Linked DNA regions of Homo sapiens: regions 2, 3, 4, 5, 6 and 7 are each linked to region 1. Evidence: promoter capture Hi-C in 16 types of primary human blood cells and fetal thymus (Javierre and others, 2016). All regions are on one chromosome and are shown on one strand. Each heading gives the region's core, a stretch centred on a gene start or on the middle of the fragment in contact. The rest is flanking DNA. Distances are from core to core; before and after follow the strand shown.

Region 1 (3,881 bases), core at 1,382-3,881:
GTCAGGAGTTCAAGACCAGCCTGACCAACATGGTGAAATCCTGCCTCTACTAAAATTACAAAAATTAGCTGGGCGTGGTCACGCGTGCCTGTAATCCCAGCTACTCAGGAGGCTGAGGCAGGGGAATTGCTTGAACCTGGGAGGCGGAGGTTGCAGTGAGCCAAGATCGCGCGTTTGCACTCCAGCCTGGGTGACAGAGCGAGACTTGGTCTCAGGAAAAAAAAAAAAAATCTATCCAAATCTATCCAAGTATCTATGCAAGTACTTCTTACTTCCAAATGCACTGAATTTCCTTAGCCCCACTCATCAAAGCTGGTGATTCTTTCATAGGCTTCCTGTAATATTAATATCCATTCCCAGTAGTACCCAGATTTTTGTACAGATATCCACTTTTCCTCCCATACCACCCTAATACTCCTGGGGAAGCTGAATCTACTCTACTTCAGAATTGATCTAACTTGTCAAAAGCCAATTATTAGATTTCTTGTCAGTGATTGTTTAGGGAACATAGGCCTAAACCCATCAATGCATGTCATTTTTGTAGCCATAGAATTTGGATTTGGAAAAGCCATGTAACCCAGTGGAAGGCAAGTGTAAAAATTCTGGGAGGCTTCTGGGAAATAAATGTCCTAAATTTTAAGATGGTCCCCTTTTTTTTTTAAGATCTTGTGCAGAGTTGTGAGGCCTGGAATGAAGCTGACACCTGTGCGTATGTGGGCACATACACATGGGTAGGGGGTGTGTGGGGGACATGGGGGAGTGTGAGAGGTGCGGGATGGGGCTCATAGTTGAGCAGTGGAGAGAACTGTAGAAAACCAGATTTGGAGCTGTGAATGACTCACACTTAATCACCACTCTACCAATCCTCTTTTTCAATTATGTTTGAATTGAGTTTCCTGTTACTAAGTACTGTTTGAATTGAGTTTTTGTTCCCTCAGTCTGAAAGCATTTTAACTGGTACATCCCTGATGGATCTCTCTGGGTAAATGTAGTTTCACTGGAAGAGATGGTGATTCCCACCAGATTCCCAAGAGAGCTTATTTTCTCTTGTATTAAGCAGCAGGGGTCAGGCTTATGGCCTTGTATTTGTAGAAATCAGCCATCAGCTTAGCATCACCAGATTTCTGGCATTAGCTGCCCACGTCTGTGGCACTTCAGGCCCATGTAACTATTTCCAGAGTGACACAAGTTTCTTCCACAGTTGTCAACAAGTGGCCCTCACAGGTTCAGTGAGAAGAGGAAGAGGGAGAGAGATCATCAGGATTAATGGATTACTTGCATTTGTGAGACGGTTTGCCAAGTATTGCTACAAACAAGGCACGGGATTTTCTTTTTTCTTTTCTTTTTTTTTTGAGATGGAGTCTTGCTCTGTCCTCCAGGCTGTAGTGCAGTGGAGCAATCTTGGTTTACTGCATTCTCTGCCTCCCAGGTTCAAACGATTCTTCTGCCTCAGCCCTCCCGAGTAGCTGGGATTACAGGCGTGTGTCACAACGCCCTGCTAATTTTTGTATTTTTAGTAGAGACGGGGTTTTGCCATGTTGCCCAGGCTGGTCTGGAACTCCCTGCCTCACGTGATCCTCCCCCCTCGGCCTCCCAAAGTGGTGGGATTACAAGCATGAGCCACCGCGCCCGGCTAAGGCATGGGATGTTTCGAACTGCTGACATTAGAAATTCACAATCCACATCATTAACTGGATCCTCCATGCCCACTCTCTCCCTCTCTGCAGCAGCAATTTCAAATCTTTACTCTCCGCAGTTCCACAGAACACAAGAAACAAACAAACAAGCAAAAAAAGTCAGGCAGGAGCCCAAGTAACCTCTATCAAAGCAAAGACCAGTGCCTAGTCTAACGCTTTTAAGGATTTTAAAAGAGGTGAAGGTGTCCTGCTTATCCTCCAAGCTTGGGTGCTGGGGCCGGGGCGGCTGAGATTTACCAGTGAAACCCAAAGAAAGAGAGGGCAGAAAACTAGAGAAAAGAAACCAGATAATGCTACCCAAGAGGACGAAATAAAGAAGCAGGAAACGAAGCCTGAGGCTAAACCCTGGAGATGACTATTAGGAAAACACCAGAGGATGCCCCGCCCGCCAGCCCACAATGAGCAGCCTGTCCAAGTCACAAAGCGGGGCCTCGGGCCTTGACAGTTCGCGATCTGTAAGCAGAATGTTCCAGGGCCTCCCTGTCGCCTGCATCCAGCCTGGGGGCAATCTTCACTGGTGTGGGAGGCCGAAAGTGGACGGCGACGGAGGCCCCTCTGGTTATCTCTTTGCCGTGCCAACACAGTCTCTGCGCCCACTAAGATGCATGAAATAAAAATTTCCGTGACTCGCCCTTTGCAGTGGAGAACTGAAACAGGCACACCAGGGAATTGGAGCGGAGGAGGGTAACTCAAACTCAGAGTGAGAGGGTTTGCAGGGGGCCGATTTGGGGCCAACAGGCTTCCCAGCAGGCCCCCGGCGCGGGACAGCGGAAGGCGAAACGCTTTCAAGAGACCCCGCTGCCAACATCCCCACGCCCTCGCGCCCTCCCGCCGCCCCAGAAGGCCAACTCCGCCTGCCTGAGTCACAGCTGGAGCTGGGGAGGAGCCAGGGAAAGGAGGCCCCTGACCGTAGTGCGGCCAGCAGTTGCAGGCAGACGGAGCAGAGCGGTCAGGGATCATGAGGGAGAGTGCGTTGGAGCGGGGGCCTGTGCCCGAGGCGCCGGCGGGGGGTCCCGTGCACGCCGTGACGGTGGTGACCCTGCTGGAGAAGCTGGCCTCCATGCTGGAGACTCTGCGGGAGCGGCAGGGAGGCCTGGCTCGAAGGCAGGGAGGCCTGGCAGGGTCCGTGCGCCGCATCCAGAGCGGCCTGGGCGCTCTGAGTCGCAGCCACGACACCACCAGCAACACCTTGGCGCAGCTGCTGGCCAAGGCGGAGCGCGTGAGCTCGCACGCCAACGCCGCCCAAGAGCGCGCGGTGCGCCGCGCAGCCCAGGTGCAGCGGCTGGAGGCCAACCACGGGCTGCTGGTGGCGCGCGGGAAGCTCCACGTTCTGCTCTTCAAGGTCAGTGACCTCAAACGGTCCCCAATCCGAGGCCTTTGCCGGCCTGTGGGCCACCAGCTGGGGGCTCCCCGCTTCCATCCACCTACCACACCCACATTCCTGACCCCTCCCGCCGTCTGTTGCTGTGGAACAGACTCACAGAGCCGCACCCACTTCCCAAGACCCAGCCCCATCCCTCCCTCTCACGCCTGAGCCCCGCCTGGCCAATCCAAGCCCGCCCAGCTCTAGCTCAGGCCACGTCCGCAGAATTTGGTCTGAGTCCCAGCCAATCCCTAAAATAACGGTGGTTGAAAGGGCATTCCGTGACTGCGGGCACTATCCTCTTCTCGCCCCTCACCAGGCCTCACCTACTTTACAGCGTTTTGCAGTTCGCACGCAGCTTTCCCTCCCCTTACCTTCCCACGCCTGCCTTTCCCCCCAGACTCTGGCTGCGGAGGTAAAAGGTTTCCCTTGTGTAATTAAGGAGTGAGTTTCGGGCTGCTGGGGGTAAGGAGCTGCCAGGATCAGTGCTGTGTCCGTCACATGCAGGAGGAGGGTGAAGTCCCAGCCAGCGCTTTCCAGAAGGCACCAGAGCCCTTGGGCCCGGCGGACCAGTCCGAGCTGGGCCCAGAGCAGCTGGAGGCCGAAGTTGGAGAGAGCTCGGACGAGGAGCCGGTGGAGTCCAGGGCCCAGCGGCTGCGGCGCACCGGATTGCAGAAGGTACAGAGCCTCCGAAGGGCCCTTTCGGGCCGGAAAGGCCCTGCAGCGCCACCGCCCACCCCGGTCAAGCCGCCTCGCCTTGGGCCTGGCCGGAGCGCTGAAGCCCAGCCGGAAGCCCAGCCTGCGCTGGAGCCCACGCTGGA
Region 2 (3,881 bases), core at 399-2,898, 350 kb after region 1:
GTTATTGTCATGAATATGTGTGTTAAGTTCTCATTTTAGGTTAGTGGTTATAAATGTTAATGAAAACAGCATAACCTTTGAGCCTATCTTTCTATAGGAACATTGAATTGCACTTGTGCAGGCTTGGATTAAATATGTCTAGGATGGGTTGTGACACAGTACCATATGTCAGAGTGATAGGGAGTTTGGGAGTTCCTCTATATATTTAATCAATATTTGCTTTTATTTTCCTCAGGTTTGTAATAGGGTTGGGAGTATATTATATATTTTTTCCATCTCAAATGTACTTTGGTGTGTAATAAAAAGAGAGGAATAATTATTTTCCCCCATCTAACAAATTATGCACTACTTACTGAAAGGACCCTGCAATTAAATTATTTTATGACATATTTATTAATTCTAGATTACTCTGTAAACTTATGAGTGTTTCTAGCCTGTGGATCTATAATTATTCAATTTGCTTTGTCAGTATAATTTGGAATTTTTTTTGTATTTTACAGTATGTTTTAATGAGGTTTTTTTAAATCATTTTCCTTCTAAACCTTTGTCTAGTCTATTTGCTTTTCTAAATTAACTTCAGAAATAATTTACTAAACCTTTCACTATTTATGTTAATATTTACTAAACTTTGCCTTCATTTGGGATTGGTCATCTGTATCTCATACATTTTATAAATTAGAAAATGTTAGCAAATATTTTAACAGCTTTGTTTTCTATTTCTAATTCCTGTGTCTTATCAAACACAATTTCAGGTGAAATTTTCTCAGCTGAGGATTTATTTCATGACATTACCCAGCAACAACTCCACTTCCCCAGTCTTTGAATTCTTCCTCATTTGTTTCCCCAGTTTCCAGAGCTGGCAGCACTGGCTGTCTCTGCCCCTCAGCCTCCTCTTCCTCCTGGCCATGGGGGCCAATGCCACCCTTCTGATCACCATCTATCTGGAAGCCTCTCTGCACCAGCCCCTGTACTACCTGCTCAGCCTCCTCTCCCTGCTGGACATCGTACTCTGCCTCACCGTCATCCCCAAGGTCCTGGCCATCTTCTGGTTTGACCTCAGATCAATCAGCTTCCCTGCCTGCTTCCTTCAGGTGTTCATCATGAACAGTTTTCTGACTATGGAGTCCTGCACATTCATGATCATGGCCTATGACCGCTATGTGGCCATCTGCAAGCCCCTACAGTACTCATCCATCATCACTGATCAATTTGTCGCTAGGGCTGCCATCTTTGTTGTGGCCAGGAATGGCCTTCTTACTATGCCTATCCCCATACTTTCTTCTCGACTCAGATACTGTGCAGGACACATCATCAAGAACTGCATCTGTACTAACGTGTCTGTGTCTAAACTCTCTTGTGATGACATCACCTTGAATCAGAGCTACCAGTTTGTTATAGGTTGGACCCTGCTGGGCTCTGACCTCATCCTTATTGTTCTCTCTTACTTTTTTATCTTGAAAACTGTGCTAAGGATTAAGGGTGAGGGAGATATGGCCAAAGCTCTAGGTACTTGTGGTTCCCACTTCATCCTCATCCTCTTCTTCACCACAGTCCTGCTGGTTCTGGTCATCACTAACCTGGCCAGGAAGAGAATTCCTCCGGATGTCCCCATCCTGCTCAACATCCTGCACCACCTTATTCCCCCAGCTCTGAACCCCATTGTTTATGGTGTGAGAACCAAGGAGATCAAGCAGGGAATCCAGAACCTGCTGAGGAGGTTGTAAAAAATAAAATGAATGCAACCTGACCTTGAAAACAGAAATTGATATTGGAGAATAATTGTTATGATGCATAGAAAATTTAAATTGTTACTGCGAGAATAAGTTTAGACTTGGCTTTCTTCAGTGTTTCAATTGATTATAGGGATATCTACTCGTTGGATCCTGCTTTCTGTTTCACTGACTGGAATCTTAGTGTTTTGGCATTCTAGAATTGTTTGGAAGTTTTTCTTGACTTCATCTATGTGAGTACGAATTGACAAGCCATAATCACTGGAGCTTAGAATTGTATGGTTTTCAAACAAAGGATAAATATAATTCCAATTATTTTAAATGTTTCTCAATTCCTGTATTGTTTAATACATACATATGTGTTAGATGTCTTGGTTTTCCCTGACTCAGCTCAACGTGAATAATTTTTTTTTTTTTTGCCATGAATGGATCTCTTGTGGACATATAGATGTTGACTCAAGAACTTTGATTCTTATGTAGAGTGAATAACATGTGACATTCACTGCCTCCTCTGTCCTTGACAGATCTTGTTAATATTTTTATCTAATGCTACTTATTTGGAGTGTGAATTTCTTATAGTTTTTTTTCCTAGTGATTTTTACATCTTAAAATGACTCATATTTATGTGTGTGTGTGTGTGTGTGTGTGTGTGTTGCTTTAAGTGAATCTGTGTGTCCTTTTTTAAGATATATTTTACCAACTTCTGACTTCATACTATCCTACCTGACTTTTCCATCAGATTTCTGACACCATCTTATTCCTACTCTTTCCTATTTGTCTTAGATATACAGTTAAACCGTCTTTCTCATCCTACTTTCAGTCCTCTTGTCTCAATCTTCATGTCCTGTCCCTGGCCAGCATAGCTTCCCATAGGATCCAGACATCTGAATTAGTGAGTTTTTAGAACAAGGATAAGTATGTTTTACACTTTGCAATTTTTATCCTGATCATGCTCTGATCAGTATATAGGTAGGACCTATATACTGACCAATATTTCCTGGGATTAAGTAACATTTAGTAGCTAGGCCCCTTTTTGGTTAGTAATAGAGCACTTCATAGATATTATTTTTGAATCATTTCGGAATGTCTCCTAATCTATGATAATCAAATTATTCTTGGAAGACTTATAAGTCAGTTTATCTTTTCTTTTCTTGTTTCTTTTTTTGAGATAGGGAGACAGGGTCTTACTCTATCGCCCAGGCTGGAGTTCAGTGCCATGATCTTGGCTCACTGCAACCTCTGTCTCCCAGGCTTAAGTGATTCTCCCACCTCAGCCTCCCAAGTAGCTGGGACTACAGGTGTGCACCACCATGCCCGGTTTTTTTTTTTTTTTTTTTTTGTAGAGACGGGGTTTCACCATGTTGCTGAGGTTGGTCTTGAACTCCTGGGCTCAAGCGATCCACCTGCCTCAGCCTCCCAAAGTGCTGTGATTACAGGTGTGAGTCACCACGACTGGCCCAATTTATTATTTCTATAGTATTGTCTTTCACCAAAACAATAGTTTTGATTTCTATCTTCCCTCCTTCTCAACTTCAAAGACTGATCCTAATCAAAATACAAAATTTTTCACTCTTCTGTTTACCTATCATGCAGGTCAGCTCCCAGCTCATTTTTTTTAACATTATGTCCCTCCTATATGTTTTTCTTAAAGTCTGTGTTCCAGTATCCTCTTCCACATAAAAAACAACACCACTCTTTTCATTTGGAAAATTATGCCCATCTTATGAGTCTCAGTTTAAACTCCACCTACTCCACAAACCCATCCTTTATTTACCCCAATGGAATTAATCTGACCTTCTTGAGTCATGTGTGTATCTCCCTTTGGTAGTAGATTATAAACTCCTCTGAGTCTGGTGAAGAGTTTTATTCATCTCTTCAACTTTGTATATTCTAGAGCTTTAATATAATGCTTTACATATTTAGTTATTTTGATGAATAAAAGTGAATATTATGTGTGCACATCTTCTTATTTTTTTCTTATTTTCCCTTCTTAGGGAAAGAATCAAATTATTAATATAATGTATTCTCCAAAGATACTTACAAAAAGCCTTATATAACTCACAGTTCAATGCAATCTTACCTACCATAGAACCTAAGCCTGCTTATTGGGATAACACTGATTTTTATTTATGTTCCAGGCATACTGATTTG
Region 3 (3,881 bases), core at 718-3,217, 330 kb after region 1:
GGAAAGTATCAAGGATAAACTTTCCTTTCAGATGAAGATGACAGAAACAGTGACAAGTTGGTGCACAGGAATTCAGCAGTGGAAAATGAGGTCAGTTTCTGGGTTTACAGTTGGGGGAAGACTATGGCCAGCTGAATTCTGCCCTTCTCAGAGCCCTTGTGACAGGGGTTATTTCTCAGCTTGTGTAGTGTGGCTCTCCCAATACCTCTGGTCTGACACTTCTTAGTAGTCTTAAGCTTATTTCTCTGAGTTAGAATAGTTGTTCTCTCCTGGCCTGACTCCTCAAACAAACTTTCTCCTCCTGGCTTCTACCATTTAGATGCTAGTGGACATGGAGGCTCTTCTATGAAATGTGACCTGTCCCTCTCTCTTTAATCTCCTTGTTAACAGTGGCCTGGACTCTATGACAGTGGGGGAAAGGGAGAGAAAAGAATATAGATGGAAAATGATTAGGGGAGGGCTGAGAGCTAACCTGTGAGCCTGTGGACACCTACCAATGTCTTTAACCCTTCATGGTCAGCCTGAGGCATTCACAGGGCCATTTGGCATGGTCCTAGGTGGCATCCTCACCATATGTATTGCGTATGTAGATACAGCTGATTTGCTACCTTTACTCAAGTCTTGCCAGAGCTAGTACTCATGTTTCATATCTTTGGAAAATTTTAGCTGCATAGACCTTGAGGGATGCATTTGATGTCCTCTTTGATATTCAGAGACTGCTGTGCAGCCATTCTGAATAGAAAATCCTCTTCATCATTGTTCCCCACAAGCTAGGGCAGAATTTCATCATGGAGATTGAACTGGAGACTTAGGGAGTTCCTGGGGCTAAGCAGGGAGGGCTGTAGTGGAACCTTCTTGAATTTTCCAGAAAACTCTTCATGAAAATTCCCAGACCTTCCAGAGTCTGAGAATTTTCTCCCTTTCCTAGTTCTCTCTGTGTTGCAGTCTCCCTCCAGGCTGACCTGAGTCTTTAAAGGGCACATCATCAAAGACAGCCCAGAGACCAGAAGGACAGTGCCCTGTGCCAGGCTTACTTTATTATCCATGTTGTGAGTGGAGCTCTGCCTCTTAATGTTTGATTTTTGTATCTTCGTCTTTTATTAGGTCATTGTCATGGACCCACTCTTTCTGTGCCCTCCCTCCCCTACTGTTTCTGTAAGTTCTTGCCTCTTCTTTTTTACCCTATTATCATAGAGATCAGGCCACTGTTAAGAAGGAGATTGAGGAGAGAGGGATAGATTATATCCCATAGATGGAGCCTCTCTTCCTGCTAGAAGCAGTGCAGAGTGATTACTAGGGACCAAAGAAACCCTCTTATTTCTGAACACATCCAGGATTTCACCATCTTCTCTTATGGCAGAGATTCAGCAGATCTCTTTCTGCCATGAAGCACCCAGAGCATCACTTAAGGTGAGGAATATCGAGGCTCAATCAGTGACACCCTCAAAAGACACGCCACTGTTTGCTACATGATTCCTATGCTTAAATTTAGCCTCTGCCTTATCACCTTCCTGTGATTCTCAGTCTTTTAAGACACTAGTGCACTTATTTATTTTTTAATCTAATAATATGAGTGTTTACTTATTCAGCCAACATTACTGATTACTCACTAGATTCCGGATGCTCCTGGAGCTTGCTCTGGGGCTGCTGAAATAAGTAATGCAGAGTCCCTGCTCTTTAAAGACTGACATGATGCCTGGCTTAGAGTGTGAGGTCTTAATGCAGGGACAAAGTGGTAAAGGCATTACAATAGGAAAGAAAAGGAGACATGTCATACTACCTTACAGAATTTGAGCACAACTTCACAAAAGAAAGGTTGCTTGGGTTGAATTAGATGAATAAGTACCAATTGAACAACATCTACTCTTTGGTAATTGTCCTCTGCTTTGTAGTTGAATAACTAAATACAGCTTTGCCTTTAGGTTCCTGGGAATAAAGTCCTTTCTGCTTTTCCTCTAAGAATCATAGCGGGACCTCCTGTTTACTTTAATAACAATTAATTGCAATTTATTTAAAAAATTCAAGAGCTTTAAGAGTATAAGTGGTTTTGGTTACATGGATGAATTGTATAGTGATGAAGTCTGGGCTTTTTAGTGTACCTATTATCTGAATAGTGTACATTGTGCCCAATATGGGATTTTTTTATGCCTTATCCACCTCCCACCCTCCCCTACTCTGAGTCAGAAATTAAATTAAAATAAGTTAAAAAATTAACATTTACTAAGCACTTGCAGACTTTTACCCTAGGCTTACGAGCCAAGCAACACAAAGTAGAAGCCGGTTATACTCAGTTACATGTGTCTCTGCTTTTCCGCTTATTTGTTTACTTAATTTACTTCTCTGCTTTATTTACTTACTTCTTACTTTATTTACTTTATTTACTTCTCTACTTATTTATTTACTTATTTCAGCAGCCCCAGGGCTAGTTTGGTTTTAGCCTCACTGCTCTGCTCACACTGCTACTATTCAAGTCTTGAGTGCCTTCCACAAATGCACAGCTGTTCTCTGACTCCTTAGCTAAAAAATGAGAAATGGGCTGAAGCGTGCAACAGAAGGAGGTAGGCAAAAAAGACAATGGACTTTCTCTCTATGTGGAATGTTAAGCACTGAGAGGTGAATTTTTGTAAGATTATGAGATTCCCCTGGATGTCTCAATAAAAATGTCATTGTTATTTCAAGTTGATTCTAGAAGAAAAACAGAGAAACTTGGGAGATATATGCCCACGTGGCATTTCAGACTTTATAGCTATCATATTCAGAGTTTTAGGGCAATATGATTGTCATCATTAATTTGTACAAAAAGAGCTCTGAGTAATCTATGGATGCATTATCCACAAGAACTAAGTCATTCTTGACTTTTTAATCTTTACACGCACATGTGCACCACCACTCCAACAGAGAAAAATACAGTTATTTCAGACTACGCCTGTCCTTTAAGACAAACATACCTACATACACATATCCAGTTTCAAGTTTTTTCTTTTAGTAAATTTCAAGGGTGAATCCCATGGACAAAGTTGATACTTCATGTTAACATGCGGTTGTCAAAGACACTGAATTGTTTGTTATAATATCATGATGAGAGGTAAACATATCAAAAGTTTGAAAAAGAGAAGCAGAGTCATGGAGACAAAGAAGAAAAGAAAGAAGCCTGTGGTCTAATTCTCAGTCATCTTCTATTGCTAATATTAAAATAATTATAACTATAATTTGTAGACTAATCTAGATATCAAGACTTTACATATATTACTTAATTAATGTTTACAATAAACCTGTAAGATTGATGTTAGTTATAAAATAAGGAAATCAAGACTGAGAGAGTTTTAGTATCCTGCCAAGGTTTTATTCCTAGAATATGAAATGGACAAAATTTAAACTAAGTCTGTCTTCCTCCATTGCTTTTATTTATCTCACTACATTGTGAAATGTTCACCATGCTATGTTATAATTATAAAGTATAATAAGATATGTTTCTTTAAAAAAACAAACCATTAAGACACTGATAGAATTTCTAGAGATAAGTCAGAAAGTTATGGATGAATAAAGGAAGATTATAAAGTGCTCTGAACATAATCAATATTCATCTGACATAGGCAATGAGTCCTTTTGAGGGGTGACAGTGGACTTTGAATTTTGAAGGACCAATTCAGATAAAGGAATTTGGAGACAGACTACACAAAAGGCATAGGTAAGCTTGGTGTGTACATGTAACTCCAAGAATGCAGGGATGGTTAGTAAAACATATGTAGAAATATATCAACTGTAAGACAAAAGTAATGCAAAAAAGATAACTTTTGATAATCTTTTATGCCAGTCTCAAAGTATGATTTTATTCCATGCAATAAATTCACCAAAGGATTTTAATCTTAGGAGTGATATGA
Region 4 (3,881 bases), core at 809-3,308, 310 kb after region 1:
TCAGGAGCTTAATTAATCATAAAGAGAATAACTTTTAAAATAAATCTAGACTCATTTACTAACATCCAAAACCCCAAAGACAAAAAGTTCTGAATAGAGCCGGATAAATAGTACATTACCTATAGAGGAGCGGCAATTTGACAGACAATGCAATTCTTAACAGCAATAGACATCAGAAGTCTGTGGAAATATATAATGTATTATGTGTGTGTGTGTGCATGTGCTCACACGTATGTGTGTGTAACTCAAATAAATTGAAATATATTGAATTGAATATATTAAATTTGAATACACATGTAAAATACTTGTCAATAATCAGATTTTTATCCAGCTAAATCATCACTATAAAAGCTGCTTGAATTAATCAAACATAAACATATTTGTAAAAGCACTGAAGAGTTAAGAAGGAAAAATCAAAATTTTGGAGCAGTTAAAAACTGAGAGAGAGAAACCCTGGATTTACAGCTTCATTTGTTCTGAAGACTTTTGCCAATCTAGAAGAAACCAGTATGAAATGGAGCAAAAATTTGGCAATTTCCTGGCATGAGGAAAGAAAAATCAACGGCAGAGTCTGATGGGATCTTGGTAAATACTCTCAGGATGTGGTTGAACTGGAAATGTATCAGTCTTTGTGTTAACTGGTGACTTTTAAGTTTATTACATCTGCAAAGACCCTGTTTCCAAATAAGATTACATTAACAGATGCTAGGGGTTAGGACTTCAACATATCTTCATTAGGGGTACAATTCAACTCACAACATGCATTACTTAGATTCTACATCAGTAAATTGTGGATTATAATAATATATCTCTCATTTGGTTAATATTCGGATTAGATGAAATAACAGGTAATAATCAGAATAACATGACCCATTAATATCTCAATGAAGATTTATTATGATAAATACATACAGGATATATACAGGATATAAATACAGGATAATACAATCCTTGGTGTAATTATATGTTACATTTTGGTCTCCCTCTAAGATGGCAGGAATGATTCTTTGTTGTACTGCATTTATAACATGTAGTATAGGGCTTAGTAAATTATAGAGTCAAGATTAATGTTTGTTAAATGAAAAAATAAATTGAATTTTATCCTCGCAACTACCATGTATTGAAAGGTTCATTATCCTCATATTTCAGATGAGGAAATTGTGGTTCTGAGAGTCTCTAACATTGCCCAAGTAGAAGCGGCCAGAAAGTGGTAAAACAAGCATTCGAACAAAAGCATCACATTTTCTCTTCCCAACCTTCCCATGATCTGAGAGTGGAGAGGAATTATTTATTTATAAGAAATTCTGAGGATAAGAATATTTTGCACAGTTTAAACTGCATGCTCTTAGCAATATACATTTCCTTGAGCAATTATTCACTCATGAAATAGTTTTCTTCATTTAGCATGTCTACTAACTTTATTTGATGCTTCCATTGTCCTTGGAGCTTTACCTCAGACACCTACATAGCAAGATAGAGATGCGGCCAGAGTTACTGTATGTAAGGAGTGGGATTATATTCCATCTACATTTTTGCCCTAATGTCTCCTTCTCAGAAGTTGTGGGGAGGAAACCATGAGTCCTAGAAAAAGACTTGTTCTTCTCTCTCTAAGATTCTTATGCCCAAAGCCCACATGATCCTGAATATTCTTCAGGAGAGCCTATATTCTAGGTCCTATTGTGCATGAGTGGTGACTGTTCTGGTGACCATTCCATTTGTTTTTTCAAGGAAGCAATGCCAGGCATTGCTCTATGGAAAGTGAGTATTGTTAACAATTGCATTGTCCGAAACCACACTTACGAAACAAAAAGTTTAGACAAAGAAAAGCCATGAAGATAAAATCTTGGACATGACACCATGAGCATGAAGAGGGCCACTCCCAGGGATCTCTGGGGTCCAGACCACTGATACTCCCACTGCATGAGAAAGGTTCACAGGAAAAGCACTCTCTGCTCCCCTCAACTGGCCACGGTCCATGCTCCTTTCATTGGTGGGAATGTTCCTCTAGTACTTCCCTCTAGAGTTACAGTGCTGAGGATAGCCTGATTCAGTTTCTTCCTTACTGGTGTATTCAGAGAAATTATCCTGAAAGAATTCCCATCACTCAGTTTCCTTACACTTTTTTTTTCTAGGATTTCTTTTTCTTTTTCTTTCTCTTCCCTCCTTTCTTCCTATCTTTCCTTTCTTATTTTTAAAATAAAATTATATATAAAGTGTAAAAAGTGATGTTTTGATACACATAGAGTGCATCACACTGAATACTACAGTCACACTAATTAGCACATCCATTGCTTTACATCGTTACCTTTTCTTGTGGTGGCAAGTCTTAAGATCTATTGTCTTAGCAAATTTTAACCATATGATAAAATATTATTCCCATCCCCACACTTCACATTAGATCTCTAGAACTTATTCATACTTGTAACAGAAATTTTATATCCTTTGACAAACATCTCTCCATTTCCTTCTCTCCCTGCCCCTTGGTAACCACCAATCTACTCTTTGCTTCTGTGAATTTGACTTTTTAAGGTTTCACACATGATGTGAAATTATGCAATATTTTTCTTTCTGTGTCTGGCTTATTTTACCTAGATGAATGCCATTTTTGTTAATTAGACTTCCCAAGTGCCTTTGAACTCTTTCACCCTCACTCTACTCCCAATGCTGAACACCTTTCACAACATACTCTCCTGGGACATGGACCATAGGGCCCCAGGATCCAGGTGCCTAATAATGGCACTAACTCTTGTGAGTAGTGTGGAGGGAAGGGACTAGTGGAGTCAGGGTCCATAAAATCAGCCTCTGCAGCTCCTGTAGAAAACAGCAAGAAATAGCAGCAGTACAGCCTTCTGAATTTGGTGAGTCTCAAGGTGGGGCCAAGGAAATTATGAGGAAGAGGATGCTGATGAGTGGAGGGGGAATCCAGGAGCCTGGTGTGAAAAGGATATAGAACTCTTTCAATAAGGCCTAGTGTAGTAGATGACAACCTTGCCACAGTACTTAGGTTCTGGTACAAGCATTACTGACCTATGGCTGTGATTTCCTTCAGAGCTGAGGCTAAGTCATTTCATGGCTTGTAGACTGAAAACTTCTGTAGGCTCAAAGACTCCTAACTATATCATAGCTATGAGGTCAAGGCTCTGTGCCTAGCTAGGTCATAATCTTCCTTTCTTCCCTACATTCATCTATGAACCTAGGTGACTGCTTCTTCTAGGCAATCATAGCTGGGCTCAAATCTTCCATTGCCATTTTGGTTAGTTCAGAATCTGTCTGACTTTTCCAGACTGTTAATGACTCATGGTCAGATACCATGTTTTGCTCATTGACACCTAGAATGAATAACCACAATGACCACTCCTTTGTGAATATCAGTCTAGGGTATGAACTGATGGAGTTGGCATACTGAAGATCGAAAACAATGCCCCAGATGGTCAACAATTCTTCATTTCTCAGATTAGGAGGCCTCAATTTCACTAAGGAAAATTCAGAGGGAGGAAAAATCATTCCAGCTATTAAGGAATTACAAGGTAACTATGAAACAAGGCTGAAAATATATTATTACCTGGAAGAATCTATCAGTGCTACTGGAAGTCCAAAAGAACATATGTCTTCCTGTATTCGTTAAAAAATCTGGGAGGCATTCCTGACTGCAGCCTTTCTCTGTCTCCTTAATCTTTCTTACACTGAATTTTCTTGTAGCCCTCCTCACCCCTCAAAATTACTCTTTCTTCTCCATTTACATGGTTATTACTTTTGTTCAGATCTTAATCACTTTTCCTTTGAACTATTTGGGACTCTCCAAAAAGCCTCCCTACCTTCCACGATTCGCCTTTGACCTATCTGCTATGGTCTCAGTGTTTGTGTCCTCGGAAAATTCATAT
Region 5 (3,881 bases), core at 470-2,969, 290 kb after region 1:
GAATCTCTCTTGGCCAGGTTACCAATGACACACCCTTATTATAATATTTAATGAATATTCACTGTCCTTATGTTATTGAACTTCTACTTGACTAACAAGTTAGTAAAACCCTTCTTGAAATTTTCCCCTTGGTTTTTTCTGGGGCATCTTATTCTTAAGATTTTCTTTATACCTTTCTAGCCCTTCCATTTATGTCTCCCTTTTCTTTTTCCACCCCTTCAATGTTACTATTTTCTAGGGTTCCAATCTTAGCCTTGTGCTATTCCAACTCTACAGGCTATGTTCTAATGCTTTCTGAATTTATGTCCTAAACTACGATCCTTCTAATTTTCTCAAACTCTTCAGTTTGAAACAGCCGAAAACAAATCTATGTGTGGCGATTATAAACACCTCGTTCTTGACATATCCCAGTACACACTAATCTTACTCATTTAGCTGTATTTTACATCTTGGTGATGCAACTTATTTACTCAAGCTAGTAAACCGGGGGTCACTCTGGGCTTCTCACCTATTTTCTCCTTTAAAACAAATCTGTCAATAAGTTCTGTCTATATGACTTCTGGAAGATTCACCTTCTTCCCATCCTCAGTGCCTCAGCCTTTGTTCAGTTGCACGTCACTTCTCACCTTGGCTATTGCGGCCGCCATTCTTTCTATTTCTGCTCTCTTGCCTTACCCAAGTTCATGCATAATAATGTGTCCAGAGTGATCTTTCTGTACGTACCCTAAATCTGGTCATGTCTCTCTTCTAATGGAAATATTTTTTTCCATTTCTTTTCATCCATATGACTAGTTCTAAAATCTTCAGCATAGAAAATGTACTTAAGATCTGGCTTTTTCTTTTATCAACTCCATTTTTGGCTCTTTCTTTCAACTCCTCATCCTTTTGGCTCCAGTCAGATTAAATATTGCATAGAATTTCCTTCCAAAGTTATTCTCAGACTCATCTCCATGCTTTCACATAATCCATTTTTTATATCTTCAATACACTACACAGATTTAATGCATGTAAATCCTCCACATCTATTGAAATAAAACTCAGCTAAGTTGTTAGCAGCTTTAGGAAAGCTTCTCTTTTCCTCTAGGGTTGAGTTCAGAAATTTTCCTTTGTGCCTTCCTATTATTCTGCTCATATGTCTAATTAACTCACTCTACAAATATTTTTAGCCATTTCATGTCAAGCACTGGGCTAATTGATGTTATTTTCATGGCATGAAATGTCTAATTGGGCATTGGAAGAAGGAGTATGTAAGCAACTTATCATATAAATGTATAACTACAGATGATGAGGATGGTTCAAAGTACTACAGAAACATAAAATAGGAGGACTTGATCTTGTGTAAAGGGGGTTAGAACAAACCTCTCAGAGAAGAGAGTATTTGAATTGAGATGTAAAGGATGAGGAGAAAGTAAGTGTTGTGTAGAAGCATAAGATGCACAGCCTTCCAAGAGAAGTGGGATCAGAAAGCTCATGTAACGTTCGAAGATCTGAAAGGACGGTGTGGCTGAAGCTCAGGGAGCAAGGGAGATGGGGTGTTAGATGGAACTGGAAAATGAGGAAGGAGGTAGATAATATATGGCATTGCCTGCTTTCCTTCCTCCCCTCCCTCCCTTCCTCCTTCCTTTTCCTTCCTTCCTTCCTTTCATAATGTAGTCAGTTAACTATGTGTACCTAGCAATCTATCTATACCCTGTTTATATAGTGATGATAAAAGAAAAACCACACATGGTTTCTTCCCTCATGAACTTATGGTCTCATGAAGTTCAAGTAAAAAATTTCCTTTTTATAATATTAGCAATGAGAAGCCACTGAAATATTTTAATCAGATGACTGGTAATATTTATATTTAAAAACATTTCCTTGATTTCAATGTAGAGAATGGTTTATAAAGAAACCTAGACTGCATTAGGAGGCAATATTTACTTTTTACTCGAGGTAATAGTACTTGGATGGTGAGAGTGGATATGGAGAAGTGGATGGATTCCAGGGCTAATTAAAAGGGAAAATGACATGTCTTAGTGGTTTCATCATGTACTTCGTATCATTTTCAATGGGTAGAATAAATGTTCAAGACATTTTCTGGGCGCTGGCTTCTAAAACTGACAAATATTTACACCAGTCACTGAGATGCTGGCAAAAGACCAGGTTTTTAAATTTTGGACTTGGTGAGCTTTGAATATCTTTGGGAAACCCAGGTTGATACATAAAGTAGGCTTCTGGAGAGGTCTAAGTAAGAAACATAATTCAGTAATTTAGTAATAGAGATGGTAATTGTCTAATGACATAGACAAGATAAAAGAAGTGGAAGAAGGGAAAACAGAATATCAGAGAGGAAAGAAGAAAAGCGAAGAAAATGTAGGACTGAAGCTTTAAACTGACGTCAAGGTAGTGGATGATGGATGTGTTCGAGAAAATGAGAGGGAGTGACCAGGAGGTACAAGGTAAACTAGAAGTCTGTGATATATGAATTAGGCCAAAGAGAGTGTTTCAAGGAAGAGGATTTGATCAACTGTTTCAACAAGATTTAACAATAGGGAAGCTGTAGGTGATTTCTGAGAGCTATTTTGTGGAACTAATGGAGATGGAAGCCAAATTGAAGTGAGTTGTGGAATGGATGTAAGGTGAGGGAATGGAGACAGTGAGTGTAAATGCTTGTGAGAGGTTTGTGCATGAAGGGAAGGGGAGAGTTAGAGAAAGAGCCAGAATTCAAAGCTGGGAGAGATGGGATCAATTCTTGAAGATGGACAGATTATTTATTTTAATGAAAGGAAACAAGAAAAGGATGAGAGTATATACACATTATTTATAAGTCTTACAAAATTTTATATAAATTTATAGGATCAAAGTGCAATTTTGTTCCATGCATAGATTGTATAGTAGTTAAGTCAGGGCTTTTAGGGTATCCATCACCTGAATGATGTACATTATTCTCATTAAGTAATTTCTCATTATCCACCCCCTCTCACCCGCCTCACCCTTCTGAGTCTCCATTGTCAATCATTTCACTCTCTACATCTATATGTACACATTTTGAACACATACTTATGAGTGAGAACATGCAATATTTGTCTTTTTGTGTCTGGCTTGTTTCATTTAAGATAATGGCCTCCAGTTCTATCTACGTTGCTGCAAAAGACATGATTTCATTCTTCTTAATAGCTGAGTAGTATTCCATTGTGTGTATGCCATATTTTCTTTATCCTATCATCTGTTGTTGAACTCTTGGGTTGATTCCATATCTTTGCTATTGTGTATAGTGCTGTGATAAACATACCAGTACAATTATCTTTTTGATATATCGTTTTCTTTTCTTTTAGGTAGATACCTAGTAGTAGGACTTTTGGATGTAAGGGTAGTTCTATTTTTATCTCTTTCAGGAATTTCCATACTGTTTTCCTTTGAGGCTGTACTAATTTACATTCCCACCAATTGCATATAAAAGTTCCCTTATACATGTTGGCATCCTTGCAAATATCTGTTATTTTTTGTATTTTTGATAATAGCCATTCTGACTAGGGTAATATGTATCTCACTATGATTTTAGATTTGTAGATTTTATTTTGAAAAGTTGAGGAAAATTTTACTGATTACTTTCTACTTTCTCCATGACGTGGTATTTGATGTCACCTTCTGAAAGAAGTAGAGTTTCAGGTTTGAAAAAAATGAAGACATTTGGGAAATAATTTTTTCTAGAGGAGAAAGTTGATTAGGGAAGATTTGTAGGGTGCAATATTTATTGAAGGCACATTTAAGGTTAATGATCACAAATTTATAGTAAAACTAGCCTCTTCTTTCCTTTTTTTTTTTTCAGTTTTATTCCAGGAGCACTAGGATGTTCAGGCTCAGGTTGTGGGAAATGAATAGTTATATTCATATAGATT
Region 6 (3,881 bases), core at 458-2,957, 270 kb after region 1:
AGTTTTCCCTTCGTGTGAAGCTGTTTGCTGAAGTAAAGAATCTCTGACAAGGTGATCAGTCCTCCCTGTGTTTGTTCACTCCAGGCCTGCTGTCTCATTGTCCTCCCGCATCTGTTTCTCTCTTCACATGAAACTGTTTGCTAGGATCACCAATGATTACCTAATTGCCAAATGCAATGGATAATCTCTTTCTCACATTGCTGAAATTCTTTATGTGAGCATGTCTGTCCACTCCATTGGATTTTCAATTATGTCTCTGTTCATTCCTTTTCAGTTTCCTTGCAATCTCTTTACCTCTTCTGGTCCTAAGATTAAGGGTAGGTGTTTCATAGAATTTCATTATCATGTTTTATTTTAAATTTACATTTTTCCCTTAAGTAATTTATTCAGTTCTATAGTTTGAATTATACATGATGTGCTGATGATTTCCAATTCTCTATCTTTGAGCTTTCACATGAAATCAAACTACTTTCTACAACATTAAATGTCATATATATTGTGATAGTTTATACACCCAATAAGCTGAACATATCAAAATTGGTTCTATAATTTCTACCTCTGCAACATACATCAAATCTTTTCAAAGCCTATTTTTTTGTCTTGTGAAATTTACTTAGTCATTTAAGTCAGATTGGACAGTGCAGTTTTAGAATCCTACCCTCTTTTCTTCTATACAAGTAGTCTAATCGCTGTCTGTCATATTTATACCTCTAAGATATGCCCCTTTCCCTCATCTTCAGAGCCATCTCAGAGCCATTTATTCACTCACTGATCACTTCTCAGTTGGACTACTGAAGCCAACAGTCACTTGTCCCCTTTTAGATGTCCTTTGCCTCTTTTGGACCCTTAAGTTTGGGTGTGAAAGAAGAAGAAAGAGATTTAGTATATTTCCCCCCAAAATAAAATCATGGTTTTTATACTAAATGGAGATGGGGGACAGATAAAGAAAATAATTAGGATATGAAAGACTTGGACATTTTGAATATTTATGGGAAGGATTTAGGAGAAGTTTAATACATAGGGAATGGGCAGGATGATTCGTAAGTCAAGGTTCCTAAGGTCAAGGTAGATAGCATCCAAATGTGAGGTCAAGGATAGCTATTTGGAGGAGGGATAGATCCTTGATTCTACTGATGTAATGAAGAGATCAAGGATGTAGATGTTGATGGGTTTATGAATCTATCTTGGGAAGTAGAGGACTTGCATCTGATGTTTCTGCTGTCTTTATGAAGTGGTTAGAGAGTTATCTGAGAGAGGAGGAGATTTTGTATTTCAAAAGAACTTTGAAAATTTGAAAAGTTGCTTGAAATGGGTTGAGGAATGAATTAACCAGAGAAGATTATTGTGATGAGTATGTAATATGTATATTAAGTACTCATTTGAGGTTGGCAGTTACACATTTTAATGAGAAGAGCCTGTCTTTGAGCCTAACTTTCTATAGAAACAATGAATTGCACTTGTGCAGGCTTGGATTAAGTATGTCCAGGATGAGTTGTGTCAGCAGTACAGGAAGTCAGAATGACAGAGGTTTGAGTGATTCTCTTTTATATTTAATCAGTGTTTAACTTAATTTTCTTCTACTTTATAATAGGATTGGGAGTATATCATACATTTTTCCATTTCTCATCTATATCTCCTATCAGTATCTCATCAATTTTCTGGATGAGAAAGTGTTAGCAAATATTTTGACAACTTTGTTTTCCATTGACCTAATTCATGTGTCTTATCATACAAAAATCCAGGTGAAATTTTCTCAACTGAGAATTTATTTCATGACATTACCCAGCGATGACTCCACTGTCCCAGTCTCTGAATTCCTCCTCATCTGCTTCCCCAACTTTCAGAGTTGGCAGCACTTGCTGTCCCTGCCCCTCAGCCTCCTTTCCTCCTGGCCATGGGGACCAACACCCACCCCCCCCATCACCATCCACCTGGAGGCCTCTCTGCACCTGCCCCTGTACTACCTGCCCAGCCTCCTCTCCCTGCTGGACATCGTGCTCTGCCTCACCGTCATCCCCAAGGTCCTGGCCATCTTCTGGTTTGATCTTAGGTCGATCGGCTTCCCTGCCTGCTTCCTTCAGATGTTCATCATGAACAGTTTCCTCCCCATGGAGTCCTGCACATTCATGGTCAAGGACTATGATCATTATGTGGCCATCTGCCACCCACTGCAGTACCTGTCCATCATCACTCATCAATTTGTGGCCAAAGCTAGTGTCTTCATTGTGGTGCAGAATGCTTTGCTGCTTTCACCTGTTCCTATTCTCTCTGCCCAGCTCCATTACTGTAGGAAAAATGTGATTGAGAACTGCATCTGTGCCAACCTGTCTGTGTCCAGGCTCTCCTGTGATAATTTCACCCTTAACAGACTCTACCAATTTGTGGCTGGTTGGACCTTCCTGGGCTCGGATTTCATCCTCATCTTCCTCTCCTACACCTTCATTCTAAGAGCTGTGCTTAGATTCAAGGTGGAGGGGGTGGCAGTGAAGGCCCTGAGCACATGTGGCTCCCACTTTATCCTCATCCTCTTCTTCAGCACCTGCTGGTTGTGGTGTTGACAAATGTGGCCAGAAAGAAGGTCCCCATGGACATCCTGATCCTGTTTAATGTCCTTCATCCCTTTAGTCCTCCTGCATTAAACCCTATCATATGTGGATTTCAAACTAAAGAGTTAAAGAAGGAATTTTAGAAGTTGCTGCAGAGGGGCCTTTGAAAACACGGAAGGGACTCTCCATAGAAGCACCTATTACTGTTTCTATTTCAGAAGCTGTGATTCCAGAAAATAAACTAATGCTTAAATACTGAGTATTTCCTACCCATTTCTCTCTCTCCAGTATCAGGAATTAGTGAGGGCTCCTTAGTACCTGACATAAATTCATTTGCCTAGCTCATGTAACTAACATTCTTAGAGATTTAACTTTGTGTTTAGATATTTACATATTTGAACAATCTCATCCTCACAAAAATTCTGCAGGGTAGGATTATTATTCCACTTTATATATTAGAAAACACAAGTTTAGGGAGAAATACTGACAAAGGTCACATCTGATGAGTGGTGGGGCATCAATTCCTCAGACACCATTGAAGCCCTGGTTCTGCTCTGTAGGCCAGGATCTCTCCATCATTTTTATGAATTTGTTGCTGTCAATAGATCTTCTCTAATCACCCTCCACCTTCAGAGTCAAAAAGAACCAAACAGAGGAACAGAACCCAGAGATGTTGCCAATCTTTTTCTGACTGCCCAGGCTTCTGTCACCAAAAGATATTAATCATAGTACTAGTTTATGCCCAGTGGAAGGCTCACAAACCTTGAAATTCTTTATGACAAGACCAGGACACTGAGGATCCAGCTGGCAGAGGTAGGAATGAGAAGACCAGCAGTGTGGGAAGTGGTCAAACTGACTGTGGTGATTTGGGGGCATTCTGTGTACTCAAAACCACACCCCATATGCTTTGGAGCTCAAGAACCAGGAGTGTGGGGAATGTATGTATGGCATATTGTTAAATTTCTGGATGTCATAATCTGGTGAAAATGGGTGAAGAAACAACATATTATTGTAGATGGTAGGCAACGCTGTCATTATTTACATGGGTTATAGAAAACTGAGGTTCAGGCTCATTTAAGAACCTTACCCAAAGGTAAGAGATAATTCTTATTTGCAAAATTCCATAGGCTGAAAGCAAGGGCCACTGTATTAAGAGGTCCTTAAACACCAGTTCTGGTGAGTAGATCCCAAAAGTATTAACTTAAAAGCATTTGAAACATAGGCCAGGCATGGTGGATCATGCCTGTAATCCCAGCACTTTGGGAGGCCGAGGTAGGAGTTCGAGACAAGACTGGCCAACATGGTGAAACCCTGTCTCTACCAAGAATACAAAAA
Region 7 (3,881 bases), core at 575-3,074, 260 kb after region 1:
GAATCACTGCTATAAGGGCTTAGAGGTCTCTAAGTGCTCTGGGCAAACTAGCTCTGAAGAATTCTATCTTGAATATGCTGTATTAGTGAGAAATCTTGATAACAAAGGCAGCTCCTGTGTGTTCAGCTCTTACTACATGGTACCTTGAGTTCTTGAAGTAAAAACTTTGCAGATACACTCTTTCATTTATTGGTCACAAAATGCAAATAAAGCAGGTGCTATAATTATTCCCATTTTATTTCTGATGCAATATTATGCTTCCTACTAAGTGGGGATCATTTAGTTTCTCATATCTCTTCTACTTTTGGCATGGTGGTAAGTTTAGTGTCTTTGTTCTCAAATACAATTTTCAGTTCTTTCCTGTAAAAGCAAACAAACAAACAAATAAGCAAAGACTGGTGCTTCTTTGAGGTTCATGTCACTCACTCATATCATCCTCTATCACTTCTGGTTACTGTTATCTCTCCTCTACTCGCCTTCATTAAATGATGACATGGTCCACATCTTCTCTGTTTTTATTTTGCCACCCATGACCCTGGTGGGAGACATCAGTATTTATGTGGATAATCCATTGAACACTCTGGCTTTTCATATTCTCAATTTCTTTATTCCCAAAGATACCTACCTCATCTACCCATTCTCATGACACATCCTTAAACCTCTGTAGAGATCACTGAATTTTCTTCCCCAAAGATCTCCTGCCATCTATGCTTAGCCTTGGCCTCTCCATTTTCCTAAGATGTCATTTTGTTAATGAGATGTTAATCATATCTCAATCCTCTGCTTAAAATCCTTCATGATTTCCATGGCCCTTTAACATGGCCCAAAAGACCCAGTATGCTCGGGTTCCTGCTTGCACTCCAGGCTCAGTCCTGAGTACTACAATCTCTAATTTTAAAAATTCTTTCAGGTCTTTGAAATTACCAGAGTCCTTTTTCTTCTGCTCATGTTTTGTGTACGCACCCTATCTCCATATTGCCCTTCACTTTAACCAAGTCTTCTGGTCACTAACTTAAATTAGGGAGGGCTTTCCTGAAGTCCCCATACTGGGGAGGTCCTTCTATTATATGCTTTTAAAACATTATAGTTTTAATATATAACACTTATAACTGTAATTAATTCTATGATCATATACTTAACATATATCATCCCAAGACCCATGAGAACCATTTTATCATATCGTTTGTTTTTTCCAAAATCTAGCAGAGTACATGGAATTAGTATATATTTAATATTTATTGAATAAATGAATAAATAGGGCTCCCCACAAGCTGTGAATGAGATACTTGTTGACTGGATGAATGGAAGGACTGTGCACTTGAGGCATTGTTCCCAAGGAGAATATGGCCACTGGGTAGAGTGGGAAGCTGCTTCAATCAGAGATGGAACTAACAGAAGGGTCTATTTATGATGGGAAAATATGATAAAGGAAGCCTCAGCCCATCTCATTGGGAACTTCCTTGGAGGGACTGTTGGAGGAGCCCTATTTATCCCACATGTACCATGGCAATGGGTTTGAGGCCCTTGGGTTTGTCACTATCCTATAGAGGAGAAGCAAAGTGCTCAACTCAACCTGAGGCTGGCAGCATTTGTCTTAGGTTGGCTTCCCCAGAAACAGACTCTGGAGCAGAGATTTGCATGCAGGAAGTTTATTGTGACATATATATGGTAACAATGACTGTCATGGAGTGAGAGGAGTGAAATTAAACTGTCATGGAGTGAGAGGGGCTGAAGAAGAAATTAAACTATGATCGAGTTGTCTCAGGTGACTTAGCTAATCAAATAGGACCTCATGAGTTAGAATGACTCCTCAGTGTTGTTTAAGATGAAGAAAGGGGGCCAGGACTTTGTATTCTTATATCACCAGTCATTGGCTATGAGCTGCTTGGGGAAGGAAAAGTAATCTTAGGCGAGACTGCTCTCTTTAGCCAAAGGAGAGTGACTTAGTTATCAGCTTCCAGAAGCCAACACTACCTGCACCTGGAGGAATAAGCACATTGAGCCACAGCATTCACTAAAGCATTTCCTGGGGTCTAAGATTGTTCTGTGAGAATGAGAAGTCTGAGCTCACAGAGCAATGTGAAATTTCCCAGCTCACTGCACAAGGTTTCCTATCACCAACAGGATGTACAGGCTTAGGGGTAATGAACAACGCTGAACAGATATGGGCCACCTGGTTAGGTGCAGGAGTCACTCTCCCTGCTTGGCCTCTCTGTCCAATCACCCATCCCTGTGGGCTGTAACTTTAGCTCTGTGTTCCTCTAGTCAATCTAGGGGCTACTTTTGGCTTTGCCCAGGTGTGTCTGTGAGAGCTCTGGGACCTGCCAGTTGGTAATAACATCCTGCCTGCCCAGTGCCTTGCTCACAGTCACCATCACTGCCTTGGTAAGGTATCAAGAATGACCTTCCTTTCAGGGTGACGATGACAGAACCAGCGACCCCTGGTGCACAGAAATTCAGGTGTGAAAAATGAGGTCAGTTTTGGGGCTCATGGTGGGGGAAGACTACAGCCAGCTGACTCCTGCCCTTCTCATTTTCCCTGTGACAGAGGTTATTTTTTGGCTTGGCTAGTGTGACTCTGAGTTTCCCAATACGTCTGGTCTGACACTTCTTCGTAGTCTTTATTTCCCCCTGAGTTAAAGTAGTTGCTCTCTCCGGGCCTGACTTCTCAAAATGAAGCCTCTCCTAGTTTCTACCATTTAGATGCTAGTGGGAAGGGAGGCTCTTCTGTGAAATGTGACCTATTTCTCTATCCTTAATCTCCTTCTTAACAGTGGCCTGGACTCTATGACAGTGGGAAAAAAAGAAAGATAAGAAAGAATACAGATGGAGAGAGATTAGGGGACGGCTCATTGCTGCAAGTTAACTTGTGTGCCTACAGGTGCCTACCAATCTCTTTAAGCCTTCATGATCAGCCTGAGGCATTCACAGGACCATTTAGCATGGTCCTAGGTGGCATCCTCACCATCAAATATCATGCATGTAGATACAGTTTACCCATGTGTTGCCAAAGCTAGTACTCATGTTTCATATCTTTGGGAAACTTTAGCTGTACAGACCTCGAGGGATGCATTTGATGTCCTCTTTGGCATTCAGAGACTGCTGTGCAGCCCTTCTGAAGAGAAAGTCCTCTTTATCATTGTTACACATAAGCTAAGGCAGAAGACCATTGTGGAGGTTGAACAGAGGACTCAGGGTGTTCCTGGAGATGAGCAGGGAGGGCTATAACAGAACCTTCCTGAATCTGGGAATTTTCTCCCTTTCCTAGTTTTCTTTGTGCTGCTGAGTCTCCCTCCAGGTTGACCCAAGACTTTAAAGGGCACATCCTCAAAGACAATCCAGAGACCAGTAGGACAGTGCCCTTTGCCAGGCTTACTTTATTGATTATCTATGTGTCTCCGATTTGTGCAGTGAAGCTCTGCCTCTTAGTGCTTGATTTCTGTATCTTCCTCTCTTATTAGGTCATTATCATGGACCCACTATTTCTGTGTCCTCCACTGCTCTTTTTCTGCCTAGGTTCTTGTCTCCTTTCCTCCCGACTATCATAGAGTCCAGATCACTGCTGAGAAAGAGATTAAAGAGAGAGAGAGACAAGTCACATCCCATAGAGGCCTCCCTGCCTGCTAGGAGCAGAAGTGACTACCAGTGACCACAGGAATCCCCTTATTTCTGACACATCTAGGATTTCTTTATCACTTCTTTGCATGCGAGATAGTGATGAATCAGCAGGGATCTTTCTGCCATGAAGCACCCAGAGCATCACTTAAGGTGAGGACTGTCAACACTCAATCAGTAATCCCCTCAGACGGCAACCCAGTGTCTGCTACTTTATTCCTTTACTTAAATTCAGTCTCTGCCTTATCAAATTTTCATAATCTTCA

Evidence for each region. The method cuts DNA at HindIII sites, captures the fragments that hold promoters and counts their contacts. A CHiCAGO score of 5 or more calls a contact.
Region 2: a contact is called between a fragment that was not itself captured here and the fragment with the promoter of CAVIN3 in region 1, in 1 of 17 cell types (neutrophils). The highest score is 5.2, in neutrophils.
Region 3: a contact is called between a fragment that was not itself captured here and the fragment with the promoter of CAVIN3 in region 1, in 8 of 17 cell types (M2 macrophages, M1 macrophages, monocytes and 5 more). The highest score is 17.2, in M2 macrophages.
Region 4: a fragment that was not itself captured here is called in contact with the fragment with the promoter of CAVIN3 in region 1 in 6 of 17 cell types (monocytes, neutrophils, M2 macrophages and 3 more); the score reaches 11.6 in monocytes.
Region 5: a fragment that was not itself captured here is called in contact with the fragment with the promoter of CAVIN3 in region 1 in 15 of 17 cell types (monocytes, M2 macrophages, M0 macrophages and 12 more); the score reaches 30.1 in monocytes.
Region 6: a contact is called between a fragment that was not itself captured here and the fragment with the promoter of CAVIN3 in region 1, in 4 of 17 cell types (monocytes, M2 macrophages, neutrophils and 1 more). The highest score is 8.1, in monocytes.
Region 7: a contact is called between a fragment that was not itself captured here and the fragment with the promoter of CAVIN3 in region 1, in 1 of 17 cell types (monocytes). The highest score is 5.1, in monocytes.

The regions. Positions count from the first base shown.
Region 1 is chr11:6,319,251-6,323,131 of GRCh38, reverse strand. CAVIN3 (caveolae associated protein 3) reads left to right here and starts at 2,631. Exons shown (of 2, transcript NM_145040.3): 1 at 2,631-3,039; 2 at 3,568-3,881. The coding sequence starts at 2,656. It overlaps LOC101927825 (a long non-coding RNA gene), which reads right to left. Exons shown (of 7, transcript XR_930998.4): 1 at 3,435-3,881. RefSeq lists enhancers at 1,865-1,954, 1,985-2,044, 2,055-2,414, 2,625-2,674, 3,218-3,881. The HindIII fragment of the contact is 4,344 bases long and covers 1,903-3,881 here.
Region 2 is chr11:5,965,396-5,969,276 of GRCh38, reverse strand. It overlaps OR56A5 (olfactory receptor family 56 subfamily A member 5), which reads left to right and starts at 783. Exons shown (of 1, transcript NM_001146033.1): 1 at 783-1,724. The coding sequence starts at 783. The coding sequence ends at 1,724. It also overlaps a transcript of OR56A3 not described here. The HindIII fragment of the contact is 6,933 bases long and covers 1-3,881 here.
Region 3 is chr11:5,987,917-5,991,797 of GRCh38, reverse strand. It overlaps a transcript of OR56A3 not described here. Among named protein-coding and RNA genes, the nearest start is that of OR52L1, 2.9 kb to the right of the region's middle. The HindIII fragment of the contact is 3,457 bases long and covers 239-3,695 here.
Region 4 is chr11:6,005,895-6,009,775 of GRCh38, reverse strand. OR56A4 (olfactory receptor family 56 subfamily A member 4) reads left to right here and starts at 2,830. Exons shown (of 3, transcript NM_001005179.4): 1 at 2,830-2,858; 2 at 3,373-3,527. It also overlaps a transcript of OR56A3 not described here. The HindIII fragment of the contact is 8,491 bases long and covers 1-3,881 here.
Region 5 is chr11:6,028,229-6,032,109 of GRCh38, reverse strand. It overlaps OR56A1 (olfactory receptor family 56 subfamily A member 1), which reads left to right and starts at 1,352. Exons shown (of 2, transcript NM_001388488.1): 1 at 1,352-1,408. All of the region lies in intron 1 of LOC107984303 (a long non-coding RNA gene), which reads right to left. The HindIII fragment of the contact is 1,300 bases long and covers 1,070-2,369 here.
Region 6 is chr11:6,044,639-6,048,519 of GRCh38, reverse strand. It overlaps the pseudogene OR56A7P. Among named protein-coding and RNA genes, the nearest start is that of OR56A1, 16 kb to the right of the region's middle. The HindIII fragment of the contact is 5,472 bases long and covers 1-3,881 here.
Region 7 is chr11:6,061,435-6,065,315 of GRCh38, reverse strand. No RefSeq gene overlaps it. Among named protein-coding and RNA genes, the nearest start is that of OR56A1, 33 kb to the right of the region's middle. The HindIII fragment of the contact is 7,475 bases long and covers 1-3,881 here.